Regions from separate parts of the Homo sapiens genome. Here region 2 is linked to region 1. Evidence: promoter capture Hi-C in 16 types of primary human blood cells and fetal thymus (Javierre and others, 2016). All regions are on one chromosome and are shown on one strand. The core of a region is centred on a gene start or on the middle of the fragment in contact, and the rest is flanking DNA. Distances in the headings are between cores, read along the strand shown. Region 1 holds the start of CCDC88C (coiled-coil domain containing 88C). Region 2 has its middle 3.4 kb from the start of RPS6KA5.

Region 1 (6,537 bases), core at 1,260-3,759:
GAAGAGAGGCTTCCGAGCGAAGAGCGGTGTGTGTACACATCATACCTATTTTTGAACTAACTTACATTATGAGCAATTAAGGAACTTTTTTAAATAAAAGATTTTTAGCCGGGCGCGGTGGCTCACGCCTGTAATCCCAGCACTTTGGGAGGCCGAGGCAGGCGGATCACGAGGTCAGGAGATAGAGACCATCCTGGCTAACACGGTGAAACCCCGTCTCTAGTAAAAAATACAAAAAATTAGCCGGGCGTGGTGGTGGGCGCCTGCAGTCCCAACTACTCTGGAGGCTGAGGCAGGAGAATGGCGCGAACCCGGGAGGCGGAGTTGCAGTGAGCAGAGAGCACGCCACTGCACTCCAGCCTGGGCAACAGAGTGAGACTCTGTTGTCTCAAAAAAAAAAAAAAAAAAAAAAAAGAGAAAAGAAAAAAAGATTTTTATTTCAGATAAAATTAATATTTCCATAATTAGGATACACACATAATTAGCAAACACACATTCTTGAGTCCATTATTTAAGGTTTATTCTATAAACGACTTCCATGAGTATTAGAGATCCTGAATGTCATCTGAATATTTGTCTACACACTTGTGGGCAGCTTCTGTAGACTTTTCTTTGTAGAAATTCCAGTTTTTCTGAATTCTTCCTTTTCCTTCAGGTTTTCCACTTTGCATTATTCATAAAAGGCTGGGTCATTATAGTGAGCTGTTAAGACATTCTTTCAATGCAGAATTTTCTTTCCAGCATTTTACTACCATAAGGATTCCAGAGTTCTTGCAACATTTGGTAAAATCTTGAACTTGTCAGAAGACCTCTCTCTGGCCTTTTCTCTCATTATTTTAGGGATCAAAACATCTTTTTCGACACGTCTGAGCTGCTGCTCCAAAAACCTGTAGTGTCTTCCCATTGTTTTTGGTATAAAAATCAAACTCCTTGAAATGGTTTACAGGACATTTCATGATTCACAACTGAAACTCCTCCACAGCGATGGCACACACTCCTCTTTGATCTCAATTCTTCTTTCTTGTGGTCTTTGCTTAAACCACTGTTCTTTAAATTTCACAGAGCAACCATCAGAGTTGTTAAATTAATCCGCGGGGTCGAGTGCCATCGCGGCGGGCGGAGAAGCAATTAAGGAACTTCTCTAATGAACTTCTGGTGCACAACAAAACCATGTAGTCTCGAAATTTTAGTTCCTCCGCAGTCCCCCATTGTGTTTTATGCTACCCCGCCTTCCACAGTCTCTAGGGACCCCTAACCGACCCCCTTGGCTCTCAGGCCATAATCTCACAACCCTCCCCAGCCCAACGGGGTCCGCCAGCGCTGGGCTGTAATACCACTCGCCACCAGCAGATGCCGCAGCCCCAACGCTGCACAGAGCCAACTTTCAAAATTACCACCGAGCCTGTCGGCAGCCATTTAGTGCCTGCTGTATACTTGCCAAGCGCCACGCAGGGCCCTTCGGGTCAACCCTGTACCAGTTGGCCCAGCTGCGAAATGCGGCGATCGTTAGGGTTAAATTAGTAAAATGGTCTACAGTGCTTTGAACAATGACCGGCTGGTGGTGTGAAATTATTACCAGGCCGAGACCAGCCTGGAGCCGGCTCCTGCCTCGTGCCGTCCCGCAAGGAGGTCCTGCCCCCGGGCTTGCCTTCCAGCCAGTTGGGGCCTTTGCCCTTTTTCCTGTCGCCTGCCACTAAGCTGCTGCTAGGAACCCCGGCTGGAATTTAGCTCGCCTCCGGCAAAGTGGTGGGGGCGGGCCCGGGTCGGGGAGGCCACATCACCTGCTTCCTGCAGGAACTTTTAGAAGGCAGGCAGCCCGGAACATGGCACGGTGGGGCACGGTAGGGCGCGAGGGGCCGCGCCCCTAAGGCCTAAACTCAACATAAAGTTTCTTCTTTGCCCTCCAGCCCAGCCCCAGGGTCGGGGCGCGTTTATCGCGCCGCGCACAAGCGTGAGGAGCGGGGGTTTGCGGGGCCTCTTGACTGTACCTGGGGCTGCACCTGCCAGGAGTGCGGAAAGGCGCAGGGCCGAGGTCCCCAAGCCCAGAGCGGGCGGCAGCTGCGGGCGACCTCGGAGGGCAGAGCAACCTCGGAGGGCAGGGCGTCCCCGCTCCCGGCACGCACCAGTGCCCGCGCACCCCAGCTCGCACGTGGCGCTCGGGCCCCGGCTGCACGCGCACGCGCGCAGGGATGCGCCACGTGCTGGGGCCCCACACGCGGGGAGGCTGCGCTCGGCGAGGGCGCGCGGTCCCACGGGCGGGGAGCCGGGCCCCGCGACCCACCCGCCTCGGGCCACCAGTCCCCTCCCAGCGCCCCGCGTAGCCTGGTCCCGCGCCCGGGCTCCCGGGCTCCCGGGCTGGCACCGCGAGGCGGCGCGCCGGTCGCCCAGGGCCGCCGAGGGGCGGGGCCGCCCGTATTGTTCCTCCCCGAGCGGCTGGCCCTCCCCTTCCCCCAGACCCGGGCGGGGCGCGGGGCCGCCGAAGCCGCGGAACGTGGGCTCGCGCGCCCCGCCTTTGTCTCCCGGGCGCGAGCCGCCGCAGCCCCGCGCCCGCTGCTCGCTGCGGAGCCGTTTTGTGCCGCGGCGCGGGGGAACGGGGACGCGGGGCGGGGGGCGCGGAGCCGGCGGGCGCAGCCTCAGCATGGACGTGACAGTCTCGGAGCTCCTGGAGCTCTTCCTGCAGAGCCCGCTGGTGACCTGGGTGAGTGCGCCTGGCTCCCCGCCCCTTTGTTGGTGCACCGGCTTCTCTCTAGCCCGGCGACGGGACGCCGCAGACCCGACACGGCCGGGGCCCCGGGTGGCTCCGGGGCGCGAGGGACGCAGCAAGTGGCTCCCGGCCGGGGTTGGGGCCGCGTCCTGGAGTCCGGAGCTTTGTAACTCTGGAGCCGGCGCCCCCGTTGTGCGTCCGGCGCGGGACCCCGCCGCGCTTTCGGCCGGGCCAGGAGCCGGGCGGGTACACCTGTTCCCGCTGGGGCTCTAGGCTGGCTGCCTCGGGGCGGACCGGGTCCCAGTGGTCACTCCTGTCCCTGGGGTTTAGCCACTCCCGAAAAGGACCCCATTCTTCCCAACCAAATATCTCATGTAGTTTTTCTGAATCCCTGAGACCAGCCGGTGGATGGCGGTGACGGGTGGGGAATGGGGGGCGCCGAATGGGAAAGCGAACAGACTGGGGTGGGCGCACTGATTTACAATGGATTTGAGACGTGAGACATTTATTGAAAAGTCCTTTTTATTTTTATTTCTTCCGCTCTGGAACGCGGGAGAAAAGTGGCGAGGAAGTTTTTCCTCCTGTCTCGTGTCTGTTGCCCCGCGCGGGGAGGGGAGACAGGCCCTAGGAGAAGGCCGGGCTTGGTGCCTGCTGAAGGGTGGTGTGGGCGTGGGTGACCCCCTTCTGCTCACACTGACCCGTCCAGTCTCTGCCTGGGAGAGCTTTGGACCGTTTGTGCGCACGGGGTGACTTCCTGTCTTTCTCTCCTCGTCCCCCTCCCCGCAGGTGAAAACTTTTGGCCCGTTTGGAAGCGGCAGCCAGGACAACCTGACTATGTACATGGATTTAGTGGACGGCATCTTTTTGAACCAAATTATGCTGCAAATGTAAGTTACCTTCTTCTCGGAGGAAGGAAAGAATGGTGCGTTAGAAAGTTTGAGAGTAGAAATGGAGTGGAAGGTTGCATGGCGGGGTGTGTGTGGGGTGGGGGGTAGTTCTCTGAAGGTGGAGACGCTGGTATCTCAGTATTAACGTGCCTGTTGGACATTCGTAGGTGTTTGAAGAACTCCAGGACAGTGGGTCTGGCAGTTGGTTTGATGAAGGAAATTTGGAATTGAATGACTGTCATTTACGTGGTGTAGATAGTGCAATTGACTTCAGACTCAAGGACTTAATTGTGGTTTGAGCAATGAAATGAAAAAGTCCCCTTTTGGAGGGCAAGGAACTGTAACGGAGAGTGTCTGGTTACAGGAAGTGTCGGGGTGGGCCCAGGCATCCGAGGGTTACTGTAAAGTTTCATTTTAGATGAGGGTGTCTGTGTTTCTGAGCTCCTTTACATTTCATCTTCCTTTTTCAGTTGCCCCAAAGCAAGTGCAATTCATTAAGTCCTACTGTATGGACTGAGTTTAAAGTCACAGTGTTAGGAGGGTCCCATGGTGCTGTTTGTTTGGAAGCATGCAGCCTGAACAGGGTCTTAGTAGAAGTTACTCTTGCCAGCGAGTACATCTGACCACATCCTTTCCTGTTGCTGAGCTCTGCACGGCCTGATTGACAGCTTGCCACAACGTAGGTGTTGGCTTCTACCTTTGCATTCTGTTTTTAACTCAAACTGCAGGGAACATTGGAACTGAGTGTCGGGATGATTCACAGGCACTTGAAGCAAAATAAAACATCCTAATGTTCTCTGTGGATCAGCCTCGTGTGCGCACCTATTCACCTACGACTGAGCAAGTTGTCATACTGGAGCATAAATCTATTAGCTAATGAGAGATCAGCTTCGTTTGTGGCTCACAAAGGCAGAGGAGCAGTTTGCTTTGGCATATCCAGAAAGTGGCTTATATAGATTGCCTTAAACAGCCTGTTTAGAAAAAAATAATTCAAGAACCTTGCTTTTTTTTTTTTTGGAGACGGAGTTTCGCTCTTGTTGCCCAGGCTGGAGTGCAATGGCGTGATCTCAGCTCACCACAACCTCCGCCTCCCGGGTTCAAGCGATTATCCTACCTCAGCCTCCCGAGTAGCTGGGATTGCAGGCATGCGCCACCACGCCCGGCTAATTTTGTATTTTTAGTAGAAATGGGGTTTCTCCATGTTAGGCTGGTCTCGAACTCCCGACCTCAGGTGATCCGCCTGCCTTGGCCTCCCAAAGTGCTGGGATTACAGGCATGAGCCACTGTGGTGCCCGGCCTCCTTTTATTTTAATAAGTCATTTGATGTCATGCTGTTTAATGGTTTTTGCTTTTTTTTTTTTAAAGTTCACAGCTGTGGGTGTAGGAAAAAAAGTCACTACCAATCTTACCAGTCTTCAGTGTCTGATTAGATTGAAAAACATAAATCTGTTGCCAGCTTTGACAGCACTTCTTAGATAACTTTGTTGAAACTGAGTTTTCCGGAAGCTGTCTCGTGGCATATTCGAGTTCTGGCCACTCTCCCCTCATTCTGTTAGACCCTGAAAATTACTGGATTCCATTGGCGCAATGACCGGTGAAACTTCAACCTGTCCTTACCCAAGCCCAAGACTGTTTAATTAAAAAAACCAGCAGTATCCCCAGCCTTTTCATTCAGCTCCTACACCCAGGCAGAGGGGGGAACAAAAGCACTGGGACTGTTTCTCTTTCTTCCCTGACCTTTGGAATTCCTGAAGCGTTTCCCACTTGCTTGTAAATCAGGAAAGCCTGTTGGACCGTTCCTTTGAGAAACGCCAGCTCATCACTTGTTCTCATTTGGCCCATGGCTAAATTCGGCCGGGGTGGTGTGGGGTGGGAGGGTTTCTCCCCTTCCCTGGGCAATTTTAGATGTTCTCTCTGTGATATGCCAAGGTAATCATTCCAGAAGTGGGAACTGGTAAATTGTAGCTCTTAAGACTTCAAGAAGTGCTTCTGGGTCCCTCAGGATGAGTTGGGCACAGAGGAATGGAGCGTGGGGAGGCTGAATGGCTGGCTTTCCAGAATGAGGAAAGAGAAGAGAGAGCGGGTGGGCATGGTTTCCTGCATGGGTCATCAGAATCACCCAGTTCCAGGTGATAGAAGTCAGAATAGTGTTTTTGTGTCTGGAAGTGGTGAGGATTGACTGGAAAGGACCCGGGGGAACCTTTTCAGGGTAGTTGAAATGTCCTGCAGAGTGGCTGGAGTATGTTTCATTTTCCAAAACTCCTCAAATTATAACTTTATGCATTTCATGCTATGTAAAATTACCTCAACTAAACAATGAACCCTGGCCTGTATCGGACAGCCTACATAGCCAGCTGGGATTCAAACCCTTGGCCTCCCTTTTACCAGCAGTGTGACACTGGGCATGTCGCTCAGTGCCTTAGTTTCCTCATCTGTAAAATGGGACGTAAAGTACCTTCCTTAAGAGATGGTTGTGAGGACAGAATGAAACCTTGTGTTAACATTTAGCTATTTGCCTATGTAGGTGCCATCTTAATCCAGAAAGGATTTGAGGCACCAACTAAAAGTTCTTTTTTTGTGTGGCCTACCTTTTCCCCCACATTCTTCGATCCTTGGATTACCCCACAGTTCTCAGCCCTTAGCCCTCTACCAATGAGGTCTAGGGCAACATTGGACCCTGGGACCCAAGTCCTAGCCCCGCATTTAGACTGTACTGCACTTAAGCCTCTGTTTTCACTTCTACCAAATGGCAACATGTCACTAGCCAGCAGGTAAGGGGTAAGGCTGTTCTGCCTCATCTCCCATACCAGTAGCTCCTAGACTGTGCTATTTGCCTGTTTTGATTCCTTCACCCCAAGTTTGTAGGACCTGAAGAAATCGCGTTGAGCAGTACTGCTAACAGAGCTCAGATAAGAGGCTGTTACCTAACACCTGGGAGCCTTGTGG
Region 2 (6,537 bases), core at 3,172-5,671, 350 kb after region 1:
TACGCCAAGTGAGGCCCTCTCCCCCCTTGCTTACTTATATAACTAAATGACTGTCCATGTACCACCTAAACTTCTCATCTCTCCTAATGAAAAAGTGTTTTTTTTTTTGGTTCCCTTTCATTTGTGATTATACCAAGAAGCAAGCCTGGGTTTGGTGCCAGTAGTCTTTAGCTTTTCTCTAATTTTTACCAATCACTCTTCTTTTTTTTGTTCTTCCTCAATCTACTCAACATGAAATAACTCTTTCTTTTTTTTTTTTTTTTTTTGAGATGGAGTCTCGCTCTGTCACCCAGGCTGGAGTGCAGTGGTGCAATCTGGGCTCACTGCAAGCTCCACCTCCCAGGTTCACACCATTCTGCTGTCTCAGCCTCCCAAGTAGCTGGGACTACTGGCGCCCGCCACCATGCACGGCTAATTTTTTTTTTTTTTTAGTAGAGACGGGGTTTCACCGTGTTAGCCAGGATGGTCTCGATCTCCTGACCTCGTGATCCACCCGCCTCGGCCTCCCAGAGTGCTGGGATTACAGGCGTGAGCCACCGCGCCCGGCCGAAATAACTCTTTCTAGCAAGGAAAGTATAGACCTCAGACTCAGCTACCAGCAGACAACTGTATCTAGCTAGAACTTACTATCATTTTGTTTTCATTGTATTTATTTTAATATTTACTTCCTGCTTCCTGTTTATGGCAAGTGATAGTGGTTTTTCTTTTTCCTTTGGTTTAGAGATGGGGTCATGCTATGTGCCCGGGCTGGATTCAAGAACTCCTGGGCTCAAGTGATCCTCTCCGCTTCTCAGTGAAGAGGTATAAAGCTAAGGATAGGTGAGACCACATAGAATGGTGCCACAGACATAGGCTTACAACAAAAGGGGGTGAGCACGGACCCCGTTCTGGCAGCAGGTACCAAGCCAGCCTGGATAAAGTCAGTTTCTTTTCTTTCCTTCTTTTTTTTTTTTTTTTTCTTTTTTTTTTCAGATGGGGTTTCACTCTGGTACCCAGCCTGGAGTGCAATGGCGCAATCTCAGCTCACTGCAACCTCTGCCTCCCGGGTTCAAGTGATTCTCCTGCCTCAGCCTCCCTGGTGGCTGGGATTACAGGCATGTGCCACCAGGCCCGGCTAATTTTTCTATTTTTAGTAGAGACAGGGTTTCACCATGTTGGCCAGGCTGGTCTCAAACTCCTGACCTCAGGTGATCCTCCTGCCTTGGCCTCCCAAAGTGCTGGGATTACAGGCGTGAGCCACCACGCCCAGTGGATAAAGTCAGTTTCTGAGAGGAAGAAACATATTTTCAAGGTCTTTTCTTGATTACTCTTCTGGCCATAGCAGAAATCTGACCTTTTGCTGGACAACCTCTCTGTCTCAGCCTTTTCACGGACCCCACCCTCTCTACTTCTCCATCTCTCAGGGCAGGAGGGAGCAGTGACTTTTTCCTCACTTCCAGCTGCTGCATCCTCCAGGCCATAGTCCATTATCTCACCCCAGTTCAACAACTTTTCCTCATTTGACTCCAAGCTGTCTGGTCACATCACTAATCACTCAAGCCCCGCACCCATTTAATTTGGTGTTTTCAGCTACTCATTTATAATTTTCCCTCCTATTTTCTCTAGTGTCATCACTACCTCTGAAAAGTTGCTGTTTTTTCCAAAACTCCAATTTGCTCTTATTTACCACTGTCTGCTCTAATAGTTGTGCAAGAGTTGTGCATTACAAACTTGGTTGTACATTAGGTTAATGATGTGGGGAGCTTTAAAAAAAATCCCAAAGTCCAGGCCCAACCCCAGACCAATTTAAGTCACATTCTTTAGGGGTAGGAGTGGTGGAGATTTTTGTTTTGTTTTGTTGTTATTTTTCAGTATCCCAGGTGATCCCGATGTTCAGCCAAGGTTGAGAACTCATCCATACTAGCGCCAACTCCTTGGACTCCATCCTATTCTTCCAGGCTAGCAGCTTATCCTGGCTTCATTGCCTTCTCACCCAGCTTAGGCCCCAGGGTCATTCACTTTAACCAGGTTGTTGCCCAACCGCTCATCTCCCACCCAGAGGGGATATGTAAGTTGCTAGAGAAAGACACTTCACTATCCTGATTCAGGCTTTCTAACTCCACTGGAGCCCTGTGCTAATCAGCGTTTATACAAGCTGCCTGGATAGATCTATTTCTCATAGTGGCTGTTCCAACCTGTTTCCACTCTCCTCAGATCCCTAACCCATGCCCTCCCCTCCCTCCTATCACTCAGCACAGTGCTTAAGTCTGTGGAAGAAACTCTTCCTACATGTGTGCACATTTAAGTGATCATATGGCGTGCTTCTGCTTTACTAAGTTTACTAAGTTTTGCAACTCTTCTGCAATTTTAAAATTATTTGAAAATAAGATTAAAAGCCAAAAAACCGAAAAACTCCCTGGATCCCTCCAGCTAGGATCTTTGTTCTCTATTTTCCTTTGGAGAAAAATATGTCCCCACACATGGTTACTACTTCCTCACCTTCCATTTGCCTTGCCAAAACTGCTCTGGATATTGTCATCAGTGGTACCCAAGTTGACAAATTCAGTGGATCTTTCTAGACCTCATGTTATATGACATCTTAGGGTATCTGATACAGCTGACCATTCCCTTCTTCTGGAAATACTTTGGCTTCCAAGATACAAAACTCTCCAGGTTTTCCTTTTCTACCTCTAGCTCCACCTTCTTATTCCAACTTTTCTTTTCTTTTTTTTTTTTTTTTTTTTTGAGACAGAGTCTGACTGTGTCACCCAGGCTGGAGTGCAGTGATGCGATCTCAGCTCACTGCAACCTCTGCCTCCTGGGTTCCAGTGATTTTCCTGCCTCAGCCTCCCGAGTAGCTTGGATTATAGGCATGCACCACCATGCCCAGCTAATTTTTGTATTTTTAGTAGAGATAGGGTTTCACCTTGTTGACCAGGCTGGTCTTGAATTCAAGCGATCTGCCCATCTCAGCGTCCCAAAGTGCTGAGATTACAGGCATGATCCACCGCACCCAGGCTTCTCCCTAGGTAATCTCATTCGTACCTCTGGCCTCAAATGTCATCTATGTGCCAGTGATTCCTAAGCTTACATCCCTATGCTAGACCTCTCTTCAGAGCTCTAGACTCATATATCCACATAGCTACTTAATTTTGGCCCTGGATGTCTCAAAATTAAACTCTTGATGTTCTCTCTCATATGTGCTCTTCCTTTAATTTGTCCCTTTCATTATTAAATGGTACTGCCATCCTCTTCCAGCCACTAGCTGCTCACGCTAGAAACACTGGTGTCATTTCAGATATTTCCATTTTTCTCACTAACCAAGTCTAATCCTTCAAGTTCAAAATATAAACATAGAAATGTTCCATTTCTCTCCATCTCTACTGCACCCACTCTCATCTTTTGCCCAGATTACAGTGATAGCCTCCTAACTGGTCTCCTTGTATCCCATTTTGCCTTCTCCAGCGCAGTCTCCAAACACTAACTTCAGTGACCTTCTGAAAATACTACCACGATTATATCATTCCTGTGTTTAAATTCCTTCTACTGCTTCCCACTTCACACAGGATAAAGTCCAAAAATATTAATAAGAGCAACCACATACTTCCTGACCGGGCCTCTGCCCACCTCCTGAACCTCATCCCTTGCTTACTGCATTAAGGCTCCACTGCCTTTCTCAATCTCTCAACCGAATAGGCTCTTTGCCTGCCTCAGGACATCTTCCTAAAATTTTGATCCCTCCATATTACACATATGAAGTAGTATAAGGCTAGATTATGCTTTGGTAGCAAATAATCCCATCTAACTAGCTTATGCCTAAAACGGTGTATGTATTGCTCACATCACAGTCTGACATAGGTCAGGTGGCTCCTTAAAGAATTAAGTGGAAACTCAGGGGTTCAGAGTCCTCCCAGTCTGTGGCATACCCACATTAAAAATGTGGCCTTTGTTACAGCAGTTGAAAGAGAAGAGTGTGAGTGATTATGCAAGGAGTTTTCTGGTCAGGCCTGAAAATGTTATATATCATACCAATAGGATCTGCCCATACCCCATTGGCCAGATCATAGTCATATGACCCTAACCTAACTGCAAAGGAGGTAAGAAAAAAAAAAAAAAAGTCTTCCTGTGTGTCTAGGAAGAGGAAATGAGATTGGTGAACATCAGGCTACTTTTTGCCACATCCTGGTTAAAACCTACTCATTTTTAAAGTCTCAGCTTAAATAATACTTACTTACAAAGGTCTTCCAGCTCCTCCAACTTAAATTAGGCATCCCTGATACATTCTATTGTAGCACCCTGTAATTTTCCTTTACAGCATGATCACAATGGAAAGTTTATATTTCTTTATGTGATTAATATTTATATCTGTTGCTAGACTGTAGGCTCTATAGGAGCAAGGACTGCATCTGTTTTGCTCCCACTGTGTCTCTAGCACCTATTACAGTACTTGGTATATAACTGGTATAAAAGTTTTCGAGTGAACAAATGAACAGTTGCACACAGTCATTGCCTGGCTCCAAATAGCACATGACTTTTGCAGGAGAAAGACAAGTAAGTAGGCAGTCATGGTTTAGTGTGATGATAAATGTTCCAGGCAGGTAAGCCCAGGGAGCTGTGAAAGCAACCTGAAGGAACTTGCAAGGCTTCTGTGTTTTGTCTTTCACAGCAGTCGAATCCAGGAGTCTGCAAACTATGGCCTGTAGGCCAAATCTGGCTCATTGCCTGTTTTTTAACTGCCCTTGAGCTAAGGATTGTTTATATATATATATATATATATATATATATATATATATATATATATATATATATTTTTTTTTTTTTAGACAGAGTCTCGCTCTGTTGCCCAGGCTGAAGTGCAATGGTGTGATCTCGGCTTACTGCAACCTCCGCCTGCCAGATTCAAGCAATTCTCCTGCCTCAGCTTCCTGAGTAGCTGGGATTACAGGCGCCCACCACCATGCCTGGCTAATTTTTTGTATTTTTAGTAGATTCAGGGTTTTGCCATGTTGGCCAGGCTGGTCTTGAACTCCTGACCTCAGGTGATCCATCTGCCTCAGCCTCCCACAGTGCTGGGCTTACAGGTGTGAACCACTGCGCCTGACCTGTTTTTATATTTTTAAGTGATTCAAAAATAATTAAAAGAAGAATATATTACGATACATGAAAACTATGTGAAATTCAAATTTCAATGTCCATAAAAAATATTCTATTGGAACACAGCTACTTCTTTTATTTATTGTCTATGACTGCTTTTGCGCTACAATGGCAGAGCTGAGTAGTTGTGAAAAAGGTCATACAGCTTGCAAATCCTAAAATATTTACTATCTGGCCCTTAATAGAAAAAAGTGTGCTGACTCCTGATCCAATCCATGCTTAGTTTAAAAGATCACATCTATCTGAATTACGTCCAACTGTACATCTTTAAGTTTCTGCTTTTTCCCATTCTCGTGTCTGCTACTAGAAATCAGGTTCCCTTTAGTTCTATCCTTGCAGCAGGATTCCTGCCCTGCTATCTCTCTCCTCTTTTCAGTTCATCACTGTGTACTAAAAAAAATCTGCACTCTTCAGCACAGCATCCCTAGTTCCCCATTATCTTACCACACCTCACCTTGTCAGCTGTATCTCTTACATCATACTTTCATCTAACCTTATCAATCACTTAACCCACCCTTGCCTTCTCTGCTGTAGGCCAATGCTCACAGTTACTCTCTCTGTGTGGAATGTCTATTGCTGGTATTTCTCTCTTATCCATCCTTTACGTTGGTTATCTCAAATGCCTCCTTGCCCTAAAAGCTTTCCCCAGTTCCTCGTCTGGGAATAATTATTGCCATCCGTGCGAGATTCTCTAACGCTTTGTACGACTGCTTTATTTCAAATTCTGCTTTATAGTTCTTTTGTGTACACACACAGATTGTTTCTCACGTTCTATTGAAAGCTGCTTAGGGGAGGAATTGTATTCTATTTTGTTAATCTCTGCATCCTTTCGGCGCCTAGTAAGAGTCTTGTACGAAACAGAAATGTCTCTCCTTCGTAAAATTCCTCATCGGGAGCTGGGACTGTGAATTTTTGTAACGTTTAAGAACTATCTGTTATTTAAGAACAAACACTCTGCTTAACTTGTTTAGGGTTCACTAGAGCGAGTAAGACCTTTTTAGGGCACGCCGTCTCGCTGGTTGTCACACACGCATGGATCGCTGCCGGGACCCTTAGGTTTGTCTGCAAACACGTGGGTGATAAGCGCTACCCTCCAGGCCCCTCCTCTGTCCACGGTGATTGGCGGACCAAACGTTCCAATCATCCCTCCCCGCCTCTTTCGGCAGTAGCCAATCAGAGACCCCGAGCGCCTCCTGACTACTAGACACTGTTTACTAACAGATCGAAGCTGGGGAATAAGGGGTGTGACCGTTCTGGGGAGGTCAGGGAAGGGAAGGTCTTGACTGCGAGTGCGCACCAGAGGAAATGGGCGGGGCAGAGCTTTGGGTCTCACCAATCGGAGTGGCGGCGCTCCTCCCTCTCCTGCCTCCCCGCCAAGCAACAACAATTCGAGGAGCGAGGCGG

What was found. Contacts are between HindIII fragments. The CHiCAGO score rates a contact against its expected background, and 5 or more counts as called.
Region 2: a contact is called between a fragment that was not itself captured here and the fragment with the promoter of CCDC88C in region 1, in 3 of 17 cell types (non-activated CD4 T cells, activated CD4 T cells and naive CD8 T cells). The highest score is 7.6, in non-activated CD4 T cells.

The regions. Positions count from the first base shown.
Region 1 is chr14:91,413,792-91,420,328 of GRCh38, reverse strand. It overlaps CCDC88C (coiled-coil domain containing 88C), which reads left to right and starts at 2,509. Exons shown (of 30, transcript NM_001080414.4): 1 at 2,509-2,698; 2 at 3,491-3,591. The coding sequence starts at 2,639. It overlaps CCDC88C-DT (CCDC88C divergent transcript), which reads right to left and starts at 2,083. Exons shown (of 3, transcript NR_184261.1): 1 at 1,989-2,083. It also overlaps the pseudogene LOC112268126. RefSeq lists enhancers at 1,094-1,143, 1,384-2,028, 3,634-3,923, 3,934-4,063, 4,454-4,583 and a silencer at 2,094-3,013. The HindIII fragment of the contact is 7,798 bases long and covers 1-6,537 here.
Region 2 is chr14:91,060,810-91,067,346 of GRCh38, reverse strand. It overlaps a transcript of DGLUCY not described here. Among named protein-coding and RNA genes, the nearest start is that of RPS6KA5, 3.4 kb to the right of the region's middle. RefSeq lists enhancers at 3,832-3,981, 6,396-6,537 and a silencer at 6,204-6,333. The HindIII fragment of the contact is 2,707 bases long and covers 3,068-5,774 here.